3 separate regions of the Homo sapiens genome follow, and all the other regions are linked to region 3. Evidence: promoter capture Hi-C in 16 types of primary human blood cells and fetal thymus (Javierre and others, 2016). All regions are on one chromosome and are shown on one strand. The core of a region is centred on a gene start or on the middle of the fragment in contact, and the rest is flanking DNA. Distances in the headings are between cores, read along the strand shown. Region 1 overlaps POLR3A (RNA polymerase III subunit A). Region 2 holds the start of RPP30 (ribonuclease P/MRP subunit p30). Region 3 holds the start of GHITM (growth hormone inducible transmembrane protein).

Region 1 (2,700 bases), core at 12-2,511, 6.1 Mb before region 3:
TCACATTTTCTTGACCAGAAGTTTTTGGATAGATATACTATGAAACTTACAAGGAAATGGGAGGCACTGACCTTTTTAATAACATCGTTTAGGAAAATGATTTCTGTCAGTTTCATTGTCAGATCATCTTCATTGGTGCCAGACTTCAAATCACTCACAACGGAGGGTCTGATACACAAAGGAGGCACCAAAAGTCGTGTGAGAATCAAATCAGACGGCTTTCCGGCTTCTGGGTTCATCAGAAGTAGAGGAACATCTTCAGCTGGGATTCGTTTAAATAAATTCAGAACTACTAAGGGATTCAAGTTTTCCTATGGAAACGAAGAAAGGCAGAAATGGAGATACTATGTTAGTTTTCCATAGCTTGGGCAAGGTTTTCCTTCACTATGTTTTCTAACCTATCTGTCACTAAGGATAAGTGACAACAGAGATTTCTATGGATGATACGCTATGCTGCAAGAGCCTTAAAATTGTGTATGTCTTTTATTCCAATTTTTCAAGCCAAAAATTCCACTTCTCATTATTCCAAGGGGTGTAACTTCAGAAATGAACACAAAGATTTAGCTACAAGAATGTTCACAAAAGCTGTTTTTTGTTATTTTTTATCCGTGTGACAGAATAGGAAGGTAATAAAAGCTGTTCTTAACAGTGAAAAGTTGGAAAGAGCCTGACAGTTTATTGGCTAAATAAAATCACGGTATATCCCTATGTGGAAAAGCAGCAAGCCATTGGGGGGAAAAAAAGATACTAGACAAACACAGCAATTGACATAAAAAAGGTCCATAAAATATTGGTAGCTGGAGGCTGGGCGTAGTGGCTCATGCCTGTAATCTCAGCACTTTGGAAGGCCGAGGTAGGTAGATTACCTGAGGTCAGGAGTTCGAGACCAGCCTGACAAACATGGCGAAACCTCGTCTCTACTAAAAATACAAAAATTAGCTGGGCATGGTGGCACACGCCTGTAATCCCAGATACTTGGGAGGCTGAGGCAGGAGAATCACTTGAACCTGGGAGGCAGAGGTTGCCGTGAGCCGATATCATGCCATTGCACTCCAGCCTAAGCAGTAAGAGTGAAATTCCATCTAAAAAAAAAAAAAGTGTTACTGGCTGGGCATGGTGGCTCATGTCTATAATCCCAGCACTTAGAGGGGCTGAGGCGGGTGGGTCACCTGAGGTCAGGAGTTCAAGACCAGCCTGGTCAACATAGTAAAACCCTGTCTCTACAAAAGTACAAAAATTAGCCGGGCATGGTGGCGGGCACTTGTAGTCCCAGCAACTCGGGAGGCTGAGGCAAAAGAATCACTTGAACGTGGGAGGTGGAGGTTGCAGTGAGCCTAGATCGTGCAACCGCACTCCAGCCTGGGTGACTGAGCAACTCTGTCTCTAAAAAAAAAAAGTGTTACTGTTAAAAAAGAACTAAGGTAAGCCAGGATGCAGTGGCTGACACCTGTAATCCCAGTACTTTGGAGGCTGACGCAGGAGGATTGCTTGAACCCAGGAGTTCAAAGCCTGGGCAACATAGCAAGACCTTGTCTCTACAACAAATTAAAAAATTGTTGCTGGGGGTGGTGGTGTGTGCCTGTAGTCCCAGCTACTTGGGAGGCTGACATGCAAGGATCACTTGAGCCTAGGAGGTCGGGGCTGCAATGAGCCTCGATCATACCACTGCACTCCAGCCTGGGAGACAGAGAGAGACCCTGCCTCAAAAATTAAAATAAATAAATAAACAAATATATAAAATAATAATAAAAAAAAAGAACTGAGGTAAAAACACAAACAAGGGGCCAGGAATGGTGACCTATGCCTGTAATCCCAGCACTTTGGAAGGCTGAGGTGAGAGGATCTCTTGGGCTCAGGAGTTTGAGACCAGACTGGGCAACACAGCAAGACCCCATCTCAATTAAAAACAAAAGCAAAAACAAAAACAACTGGTGTTACAAGGCCAGTCCACATTAGCCTTAGTGCCAGATAAACACTGTTACGGTCAAATAAGAATTACTGGAGAGCTGGCCGGGTGTGGTGGCTCATACCTGTAATCTTAGCACTTTGGGAGGCTGAGGCGACTGGATCACCTGTGGTCAGGAGTTCAAGACTGGCCTGGCCAATATGGGGAAACCCTGTCTCTACTAAAAATATAAAAATTAGGTGGGCATGGTGGCACATGCCTGTAATCCCAGCTACTTGGGAGGCTGAAGCAGAAGAATCGTTTTAACCTGGGATGCACAGGTTGCAGTGAACCAAGATTTGCACCACTCACTCCAGCCAGGGTGAAAGAGCGAGACTCTGTCTTCCATCTCAAAAAAAAAAAAAAAAAAAGGAATTATCGGAGAGCTGTCGAACCTAACTGGACCTCTCATTTTGGAAGAAAGTGGGTGTCTAGGGGTGGGGCGGAGTTGGGGGAGAGAGTGTGCATGTGACGTGCGGAAGAGGCAGGCGGGAGGCAGGCGGAAGGCAGGCGTGCATTCTCAGGCTCACCTGTGCCCTTCCCAGCAGAGGCTCCACTTCTTTATTATGTTCAATGGCTGTTTCAAAAGACTGAAGGAAATTTGATACAATGGGATCCACCACTTTTTTGTTGGTCTTGTATTTCTCATGAATTATTTTCAGCAGTCCACACTTCTTTACGGTACCTATAAGGGTTAGTTTATTTACCAAGAAATAAAAAATTATGTTCTCAGATTGGCCAGAGATTGTAGTATG
Region 2 (4,849 bases), core at 2,117-4,616, 6.7 Mb after region 3:
AACTTCTGACCCCTCTTCCCTGTTCATCTCCCCTATTCTGTCTTGTCTTTTTCTTCTCTCCACTTCTCTCTCCCCTCTTCCACTTCTTTCCTTTCCTTCCTTCTCCCTTCCTACTTCTCCTTTCCTCTACTCTCCTTCTCTCCTCTCTGGTCTCCCTTCTCTTCTTTTCTCTTCTTCTCCTCCTCCCTCCCAAACAACTCTAGTCTCTGCTTGCTTTGCTCAGGAAGCAGTACACTAGGCAAGAACTGAAACAAATTGCCTCCATCCACATGTAGTTCTACCACTAATAATGCCTTAGTTTTCTCAGATATAAAAAATGGATATTGATTTTAAAAACAAAATAACAAAAAGTAAAAAACAGTACTTCTGCAAGTCTAGATCTGAAAACAGTAATAAAACAAAAATAAAAAACAGCATTTAACACACAGCTGCTTTGAAAATAAGATACATACATAAGTACTTAGCAAATTCGCTGGCCCTCAGTATAGTGCTAAATACTGATTGTTATCTATTCCTATTCTTTCTTACCTCTTCTCTTCCTCTTCACCCAGGCTTAGGGTGCAGAGAAGAAAAGAAGTTTATATGGTACAGTCCACAGCAAAAGTTCTGTGACTTTCAAAGAAGCCCACTTTAGTCTCATACTAGCATCAGATAATTAAACAGTCTCCTAGCCACAGCAATTAGGCAAGAAAAAGAAATAAAAGACATCCAAATTGGAAAGGAGGAACTCAAATCATTACTGTTTGCAGACAACATGATCTTATACATGGAAAACCCTAAAGGCTCCCCCAAAAAAACTCCACCATTTAAAACTAGCAAGTAAATTCAGTGAAGTTGCAGGATACAAAATTGACATACAAAAAAACAGTAGCATTCTGTATGCTAATAGGGAACTATCTAAAAAGATCAAGAAAACAATTCCATTTACAATAGCTACAAAAAAAGATACCTAGGAATAAACTTAACCAAGAAGGTGAAAGATCTGTACAATAAAAAAAATTAAGGAAATAAAGATGACACAAATAAGTGAAAAGATATCCCATGTTCATGAACTGAAATAATATTGTTGAAGTAGACATACTATCCAGAACGATCTACAGATTCCATGCAATCCCTATGAAAATACCAATGACATTCCTCACAGAAATATTTTTTAAAATCCTGAAGTTTGTGTGGAACCACGAAAGTCCTCAAACAGCAAGAGCAGTCCTGAGCAAAAAGAGCAAAGCTGGAGATATCACAAAGCCTGACTTAAAAATATGCTACAAAGCTATAGTACCCAAAACAGCATGGTACTGGCAGAAAAACAGACACATAGACCAATAATGTAACAGAATAGAGAGACCAAAAATAAATGCATGCACCTATAGCCAACTGATTGGTATTGAGGGAGGGATTGAGGGAGGAGGATGGGGAGAGGTTGGTCAACAGGTACAAAGTTAGATAGGAGGAATAAGTTCTGATGTTGTATTGCACACAAGGTGACTATGGTTAACAGTAAGGTATTGTTTATATATCACGAAACAGCTAGAAGAGTTTTTTTTAATGTTATCACCAAAAATGCATGAGGTGATGAATATGCTAATTACCTTGATTTGTTCATTATACAACATATACATGTATCAGAACATGAAATTGTACCCTATAAATATGTATAATTACAATGTGTCAACTAAAAATGAAAAAATAATTGAACTATCACCTTATTCACCTTCACCACACATTGGTCATATTTCTGACCAATCTAGATTGTTATGGTCATAGGTGATGATGCCTGTGTGACCCTGCAAAATTAACACTAGATATTCTCATGAAAAACAAAGCGTTTGCTTCATATGACCTTATTCTATTTGCAGAAGTAATATTCTCTTCTACTCCCACTTAGGAAATATCAAGTACTGGAAAAGGCAAAATATCTCTTCTTTACAAAAGTTAACCAAGAAGAGAATTGCATGCTACTGCATGGAACAGATCCTTCCTCCCTTCTGAGACCGACAAGAAAATCGCATAAAGGAGTACTAGTTAAGGTGTGGTCCATAGACGAGAGACTATCTGTGAACTGTTTGTGATCAGTAAATAAGAGAAATTGATGGGTGAAGCATGTGGGTGGGCTCCTGTAATCACAGCTAGGAGAGAGGATTGCTTGCGTTAGAGTCCATCCTGGTCAATAACGAGATACTCTCTCTAAAAACAAAACAAAACGAAACGAAAACTCAGCAGGCCACCAACTAGGATACTCCCTAGGTCAAATGACCGAGCCTCTAATTCTGTGATTGTTGTTGCTGTGCGCACGTTAATAAAACAAACAAACAAACAAAAAGTGAAGATGTTTAGAAAGTTTACAGTACTTTGGCATTGTCCTGATAATCCAAGCTCCTGATCAGCAGATTCTATTCAGCCAGGTATAGGGCAGTTCGAGTGTTGTCAAATTTGTGATTCCCATGAGGCCAGGCTGCTTACTGGTAATGCATAAAGGACCACATCCTGGTTCGCGAAGAGTTTGGGGGTAGAGGAAAAGGAGGGAGAAACTGATCCTTCATCACAGGTAGTTTGAGAGCACTGATGTAAACTATAGTCACACTTTTGTAGTATAATTGATTATTATCCTCAATAGATCATTTACACTAAGTCGGAAAAAAGTGGAAACATCAGATATGTGGGATATGCGTCACCTTGTACATTTCTCAGCTGGAAAAGTGTAAAACATCTCAATTTTGCACCTCCCTTTTCAAACATGTCTTTGGCTAAATCAATGTTGGCTCTAACCGCTCGTCCTAGAGCGAGTCCCGCCATCTTGTGGTTGAAGATGTTGACTGCCACAGAGAATAGCGGGCTTTGACATCAACAGTTCTGATTGGGTAAAAAGACCCTCGTCTTGGGGTAGTTCTCTTTTGAAGTCCTAGAGTCCGTCACACACAAACGCCTTCTTCCCGGTAAGTCCATTGTAAACAACGGAATGGACTTTAGGGAAAGGAAAGGAAAACGTGTTCTTTAAGACTCTTTAAATAGCGTTTTCACCCATTAGCAGAATTCTCTGATTCATGAGCAGCACTAAGTAGATACCGTGTGCGTGCATTTTGAATGAATTCATTTCTACACTATTTTATAGGAGTATTGAATAGTTGGGAATTGGAACCCCTCCAGGGGGAACCAAACATTGTCGTTCAGAAGAAGACAAAGAGAGATTGAAATGAAGCTGTTGATTTCAACACACAAATTCTGGTGGTAGATGAAAGCAAAGCAAGTAAGTTTCTCCGAATCCCTAGTCAACTGGAGGTAGAGACGGACTGCGCAGGTTAACTACAGCTCCCAGCATGCCTGAGGGGCGGGCTCAGCGGCTGCGCAGACTGGCGCGCGCGGACGGTCATGGGACTTCAGCATGGCGGTGTTTGCAGATTTGGACCTGCGAGCGGGTTCTGACCTGAAGGCTCTGCGCGGACTTGTGGAGACAGCCGCTCACCGTGAGTTGCCCCGGCTTCGCGCCTGGCCAACCTCATGCCACCCAGACCATCGGGCCACACTCCGGAGTAACTATTTCCTGATGGGTCTCGGTCAGGTCTCCCAGAGTCTCTGGGATGTCCCTGGAGGCTGATGCCCGCCGAGGTGTTGGTCTGATTCCTAGCGCGGGAAACTCGAAGGTTCTGGGGGTTGTTATCTGGTTCAGCTACTTTCCTGCAATGAGGGAACTGAGGCCTAACGAGGGCGAGGGATTTGCATAGGGGCCTACAGCTGATAGGTGACAGAAGCCGGAGCTGGACTCCAAGGGTACAATCTTCTAAGCTTCTAAGTTACTATCAGCCCTTCCTGATTCTCACGACAGTGTCTAAACAAATACTGGAATTTGGGGCACGGACAGGAAGCGCCGTGGAGGCTCGGAGAAGGAGGAGGACGTGGGAGTGTTGGAACAATACTATCTAGACAGAGAGAGGGTAGGTGGGGGCAGAGGACATACACAGCGGAGTGGAGGTGGAGGAGGAGGATAGCATGGCCCAAATCGAAGGGAAGCGAAAGCCTTGAGAGACGAGAACCTGTTTTAACTATTGGAGTTAGTCATGGGTTCTGTATTCCGTAGACTGTAAAGTGTTGGAATAGAGAGATTAAAAAGAATCAAGAGGTTCGTGTAGTAACATCTGCTCCTCAGAGACAGTTTTCAGCTCATTGTGAGTTCTGATTACTGATACTGTTCAGAGGTGGTGCTAGAAATGACAACCACTTCTTGGCAAAGTGAATCACACCACTTTTTTATTGTTCTCTTTATGAAGTATCCGTGGCGAAATGACTGTCCCTTTCCACTGCTGCCACTAAATGAACGTTATCTCTGTGGTACTTTGCTCATCAGCACGAAGACGAAAGTAGACATGATGATCTGGGCCATTTGGCGCTAATGTTCTTTGATCCTGTAAAATAAGTTTTCCTAGGTGTAGTTTGTCGCAATTATTACCTCCTCAATGAGGCTTTTCCTGACGCCATCCCATTTTTGAATAAATCATGAGCTTCCTAAGAGAATTGCCATGTCTTATCCTTTTATTTACTGTGCTTAACACGTTCACTCTGCAGGCACCAGTACATGGCAGTTACTCAGTTAATGCTTGTGGAATAAACTGAACACATTAAAAAAATTAATACAAAAAAGAAAAGTTAATAATGATTTCTTTAGAGAATTTCCCCCAGTTTAAAATACACTTGGAAGAGGTGTGGTAATATATGTACATTGTTAGTGGTTATTTGTTTGTAAATTAAATGGAATTCATGGCATATAAAGTTGCCTCAACTTACAAGTCAAAGACAAAGGACTGCTCTGCTATTTGATGAGTCTGGAACTAAATAGTGGACATTTGCAAAGAATAGG
Region 3 (4,973 bases), core at 1,654-4,153:
GGGAGGGCAGAGGTTAAAGCCCCAGCAAACTCCCTTTCCAACTCTGTTTCATTCATACCACATCTTCTGATGGGAAAGCATAGTAGGGCAAGGTGAGAGCATTTATTTTAACTGAAAGTAAATAAAATATTTTATCTTTTGTCCTGGCTCTGAGTTTTCTCCACTATAATGCAGCATATCTCACTTAGCCAGCAAGTGGAGAATAAGGAATTCATCAGCAGACTGTAATAAAAACCGTGACATATATATAGTATTGGAATTTACGAATCATGTCTTTTCCTTTTTATTTACTTATTTATTCTTTTATTTTTTATTTTTTATTTTTTTGAAGTGGAGTCTCGCTCTGTTGCCCAGGCTGGAATGCAGTGGCACGATCTCGGCTCACTGCAAGCTCCACCTCCTGGGTTCATGCCATTCTCCTGCCTCAGCCTCCCGAGCAGCTGGGACTACAGGTGCCCACCGCCATGCTCTGCTAATTTTTTTTTTTTTTTTTTTTTTTTTTGGTATTTTTAGTAGAGACGGGGTTTCACCATGTTAGCCAGGATGGTCTCAATCTCCTGACCTTGTGATCTACCCGCCTCGGCCTCCCAAAGTGCTGGGATTACAGGCGTGAGCCACCACACACAGCCTACTTATTTATTTTTAAAGACAGCATCACCCTATGTTGCCCAGGCCGGCCTTAAGCTCCTGGGCTACCTCCCCAGTAACTGGGACTACATGCATGTGCCACCATTCCCGGCTTGTCCTTTTCTCTATCCTACACTCTAAGAACTTAGAAGCAGAGAACTTAACAATTAAACACTTCAAACTAAGTTTTATGTATCTACTTCCCCTCACTTGTATCTCTCCCTGTATCCTATTGCTAAATTAATGATAAAATTATCCACCCAGTTCAGAAGGATTACTCAGGGAGCCTTCCTCATTCTTATCAGCTATATTTGACCGACCATTCAATCCTGCAAACTCCACTTCAGCAATATATCTCTGTCATAAACCCCTCTGTGTCTTTCTACTGGCTTAATTCCAGCCTTTATTGCCTTTTGGTTGAACAACTACAATAAATTCCTAATTGGTCTCCTGGTCCATGGAACCTCTCCCTTCCTACACTGCCACAAGAGCATATATTTCCCAATGATATGACCAGATTCCTCCCCTGCTTCAAAATATTTGACCCCTGTGGAAACAACAATACAAGCCCTTTACTTGAGAAAGGAAAATATGAAATCAGACATTTTTCTTCCAATATGGAGAGAATAAGCTTTAATAGGAATCTTGAAGAAAGCTTGAGTCATTGACTTCAAGATCTTTATTCTGGTACTGTGTTGTAAATCCTTTCTCTTTGCTGATAACAGAAGCTCTAGAAAAAAAGACTATCACTGAAGGAGCCAAACAGAAAACCTATTTGCTAGCTAATAAAATTGGGCATAGATCAAAATAAAAATTAAACTGATCATGCTTGATCTGTTCAGTTTCGTGAGATTTCTCTAGTGTTTTCCTGCCATTTTCAGCGTAAAGAGATAAGAATTGTGTTGCTGCCAGACTCTTTTATTATCCACATAGAAGGCAAGTCTTTATATTTGTCAAGGTTTACATGATTAGGAATCATAAATCACAATTAACTACTGCTTAGGAGATAAAGGTTCATGAATTTTGCATGTTGTTAATCACCTTATCACCCTTTCAGGGTTTTAATCTGCTCTTTCTTCATGGTATTAAGTTATCACATTATATTTTTTCTATGTTCTGTCTCTACCAGAAAGTAAAGCCACAGAGCAAGGACTTTATTTTGTTAAAATAGTGGTAGCACACACGGGTTTAATTCATTTGCTGTTTTTTTGTTTTTGTTTTTTTGGTTTCTTTTTTTTTTGAGACTGAGTCTCCCTCTATCGCCCAGGCTGGAGTGCAGTTGCGGGATCTGGGCTCACTGGAACCTCCGCCTCCTGGGTTCAAGTGATTCTCCTGCCTTAGCTTCCCAAGTAGCTTAGATTACAGGCACCAATCACGCCTGGCAAATTTTTGTATTTTTAGTAGAGACAGGGTTTCCCCACGTTGGCCAGGCTGGTCTCGAACTCCTAACCTCAAGTGATCCACCCGCCGCGGCCTCCCAAAGTACTGGGATTACAGGCTTGAGCCACCACGCCCGGCTGATTCATTTGTATATATTTCTAGAACAGAGCTTGGTACGAAGTTGAGCATTCAGTAAATATCTGTTGAAATAGAGGGAGAGTGAAAAAGAAAGTAACTCTCTCGCGTATTCCACAACTAGCTCTTCACCTATCAAATTACGCGCAATGGAAACATCTTAGTCCTCAGAGCAATCCTGGGTGCAAGGCAGAGGCGGCTGTTATCAGGCCTATTACACAGGTTTAGGGTGAAACTTGAAAATGTGGGCGGGAAAGTCACAAAGCAATGAAAAAACCATCTAGAAAAAATCTTTTCTGGATGTCACCATCTAACATTTGGCATGAGACCCCAGAAACCGGATGACTCGGCTCAGAAGCAGACACATTTGAAAAGATATTTATCTCACGATAAATTAAGGGACAAAAAGGCCTTCAAAAAGGAACGGAATAAACGGAATAATTTTTAACTCTAACATTACTTTCTTTCAATTTTTACATAATTCTTATAGCTGCGGCGAGTGAAACGACTAAAACAAAAGCAAAACAGAGCTCCACTGCCCAAAACAAAGATGGCCGAGACGACTCCCATGCCCACACGCAAAATGGACGCTGACTATGACGTTCCCTGCAACAATCCTCAACTGGCCCCGCCCCACCAATTTGGAACCCCGCCTCCTCAACCCGGAACCCCGCCTCCCCCAGTGTGGCCGCTTTTCCGACAGAGGCCTGCCCGTGATTGGCTGCTCGTACTATTTACGTCCTTTCGATGTTGCGTCATGCAGTGCGCCGGAGGAACTGTGCTCTTTGAGGCCGACGCTAGGGGCCCGGAAGGGAAACTGCGAGGCGAAGGTGACCGGGGACCGAGGTACTGCTCCGGCTGGCCGGCGGGCGCCCGGGATCCCCGGTGGTCCTGACAGCCGCCCTCACGGGACCGCTGGGTGCGGGGGGAAGGGCTGGAAGCAGCGGTGCTGCTGGCTGCGTCAGGGCCGGCCTGCGCGTTGGGGTCGCAGTCCTGTGGGTGACCTGGTGGAGAGGGCGGCGGCACAAGGCCCTGGTCAGGCGGGCAAGGGCTCAGTGTAGCTGTGCTTCTGTCCTCGGGCAACAAGGTGCTGAGTCATCCTTGCGGCGAGGCCGTACAGCCGCTGCGCTGGTAGCGGCACCTGGGGCAGGGGCAGAGGTGTTGTGGGTTGACAGGGAAGTTTGCTGCCGGGTTCTCATCTGAATCTAGCGGGCTGGGTGAACTTTCTCGGGGACCAGGCACCCAAACTCATCAATGCTCACGGAGGCATAAGCCCTTGGATTAGGGTCGGTAGTATTTTCCCCATTTTATAGCAACGACATCTGAGTCTTAGAGATCCACACTCCTCACAAGGTCACTTCTAACCTGTCAGAAGCGGGATTCCCACTCTGGGCTGTTACGCCACATGGAGGTCACTCTGAGCTGGACCTCTTCGGCCCCAACCAGTGGACTGAGTACTGAGGAAGATACAGGACAGCCATAGGTTGAGATGATGTAATGGCACGAAAGTTCCAAAAGCGCTGGGTGTTTTCCCAAAGGCCGGGTGCCGAATTTTAAGACCCTTAATAGTTCAGTTGCAGAGCTCGGAGGACGCTCGGGTATCTTAAAGCAATAGTTCTTAGCTTTTGGAGTGTTCGTTAAAACACACGTTCTTGGTCTTATTCCTAGGGGTAGAATCATTAGGAGCAAAGAAAGACCCAGGAGCCTACATTTTAAGATGCATCCGGGGCACTTTCAAGCAGGTAGTCTAAGGGTCAACGCTGTAGTCTGAACACGGAATCCTTATGTTACAGATGGGGAAATGGGCCCAGAAGTATATCACTTGCCTAGAATTCACTACAAATCATTGGCAGAGATGGGCTGGTAGCCCCAGTTGGTTTACACTCGTCATTTCATTCTGACCTATTGTAGTCACCTCACCTTAGCATTACAGAAACACTGTCTGCTGACTTCTGGTTGACCACCCATCTAGTATAATGTGCCCTGGAGCTAAGATAATCCAGTTTTTAGCATGCTTTTCTTTTGAAGACACCATCGAGGGAGTCTAATGTAAGGGAAACCTGGTTGGTAACTGAGTTTACTTGTTTACTTTGAAAGACTAAATGTCCTTTACGCATTATAGTAGGACATATAGAATAGGTTAACTTAGAATATTTTTATATCTCATGTTGAAGGAAAGTAATATTTGGTATGATTAGCTGAAATTCATATAGTTGGCTTCTTTTAATACCTTTTAGCTTTGTAATGCAGTATAACCTTGAAGAGCTATTCATGTCTTCTTTGGATGACACTATTCCTTTGCCCAAAAGTTATGTAGATTCTTTTAAATTTTCCCACTGGATGCTGGTATAAATCTTAAGCCAAAACTACATTTGTAAAAACCATCACAGACTCTGTAATCACGTCCAGTTATTAACAGCCGTTCTGTGTTACACATAATTTTTGCAGTCATCTATTTTGATTGGTCAAACTGGGACTTAAACCTAGTTTGTTCCTCCATCTTCAGCTGTGTTCTCTGGGATGGGTTTCTTGCATTACAGTGGATGGTTGGGCAAAGAATTCATCGCTGAAAATTAAAAAGGTCGCTTTATTTCCTGTTCTACTAAAAAATAGTTTGTTCCTTGACTCTGACTCTCATATGTCCTTCTCTTAATTGGTTAGTAGGTTGTTTTACTTATGTTTTTTTGGTTGGTTTTGCCTTTTTTTTAAACTAGCATTTCAGATCTGCTCGGTAGACCTGGTGCACCACCACCATGTTGGCTGCAAGGCTGGTGTGTCTCCGGACACTACCTTCTAGGGTTTTCCACCCAGCTTTCACCAAGGCCTCCCCT

What was found. Contacts are between HindIII fragments. The CHiCAGO score rates a contact against its expected background, and 5 or more counts as called.
Region 1: a contact is called between a fragment that was not itself captured here and the fragment with the promoter of GHITM in region 3, in 1 of 17 cell types (total B cells). The highest score is 5.5, in total B cells.
Region 2: the fragment with the promoter of RPP30 here is called in contact with the fragment with the promoter of GHITM in region 3 in 1 of 17 cell types (non-activated CD4 T cells); the score reaches 5.6 in non-activated CD4 T cells.

What each region holds. Positions count from the first base shown.
Region 1 is chr10:78,022,074-78,024,773 of GRCh38, forward strand. It overlaps POLR3A (RNA polymerase III subunit A), which reads right to left. Exons shown (of 31, transcript NM_007055.4): 5 at 2,476-2,630; 6 at 72-311. Among named protein-coding and RNA genes, the nearest start is that of POLR3A, 6.1 kb to the right of the region's middle. The HindIII fragment of the contact is 7,786 bases long and covers 1-2,700 here.
Region 2 is chr10:90,868,608-90,873,456 of GRCh38, forward strand. It overlaps RPP30 (ribonuclease P/MRP subunit p30), which reads left to right and starts at 3,367. Exons shown (of 11, transcript NM_006413.5): 1 at 3,367-3,461. The coding sequence starts at 3,380. RefSeq lists enhancers at 3,205-3,499, 3,218-3,487, 3,618-3,677. The HindIII fragment of the contact is 10,238 bases long and covers 1-3,778 here.
Region 3 is chr10:84,136,606-84,141,578 of GRCh38, forward strand. GHITM (growth hormone inducible transmembrane protein) reads left to right here and starts at 2,904. Exons shown (of 9, transcript NM_014394.3): 1 at 2,904-2,988; 2 at 4,857-4,973. The coding sequence starts at 4,896. RefSeq lists enhancers at 2,272-2,841, 2,842-3,411 and a silencer at 2,985-3,184. The HindIII fragment of the contact is 9,095 bases long and covers 1,281-4,973 here.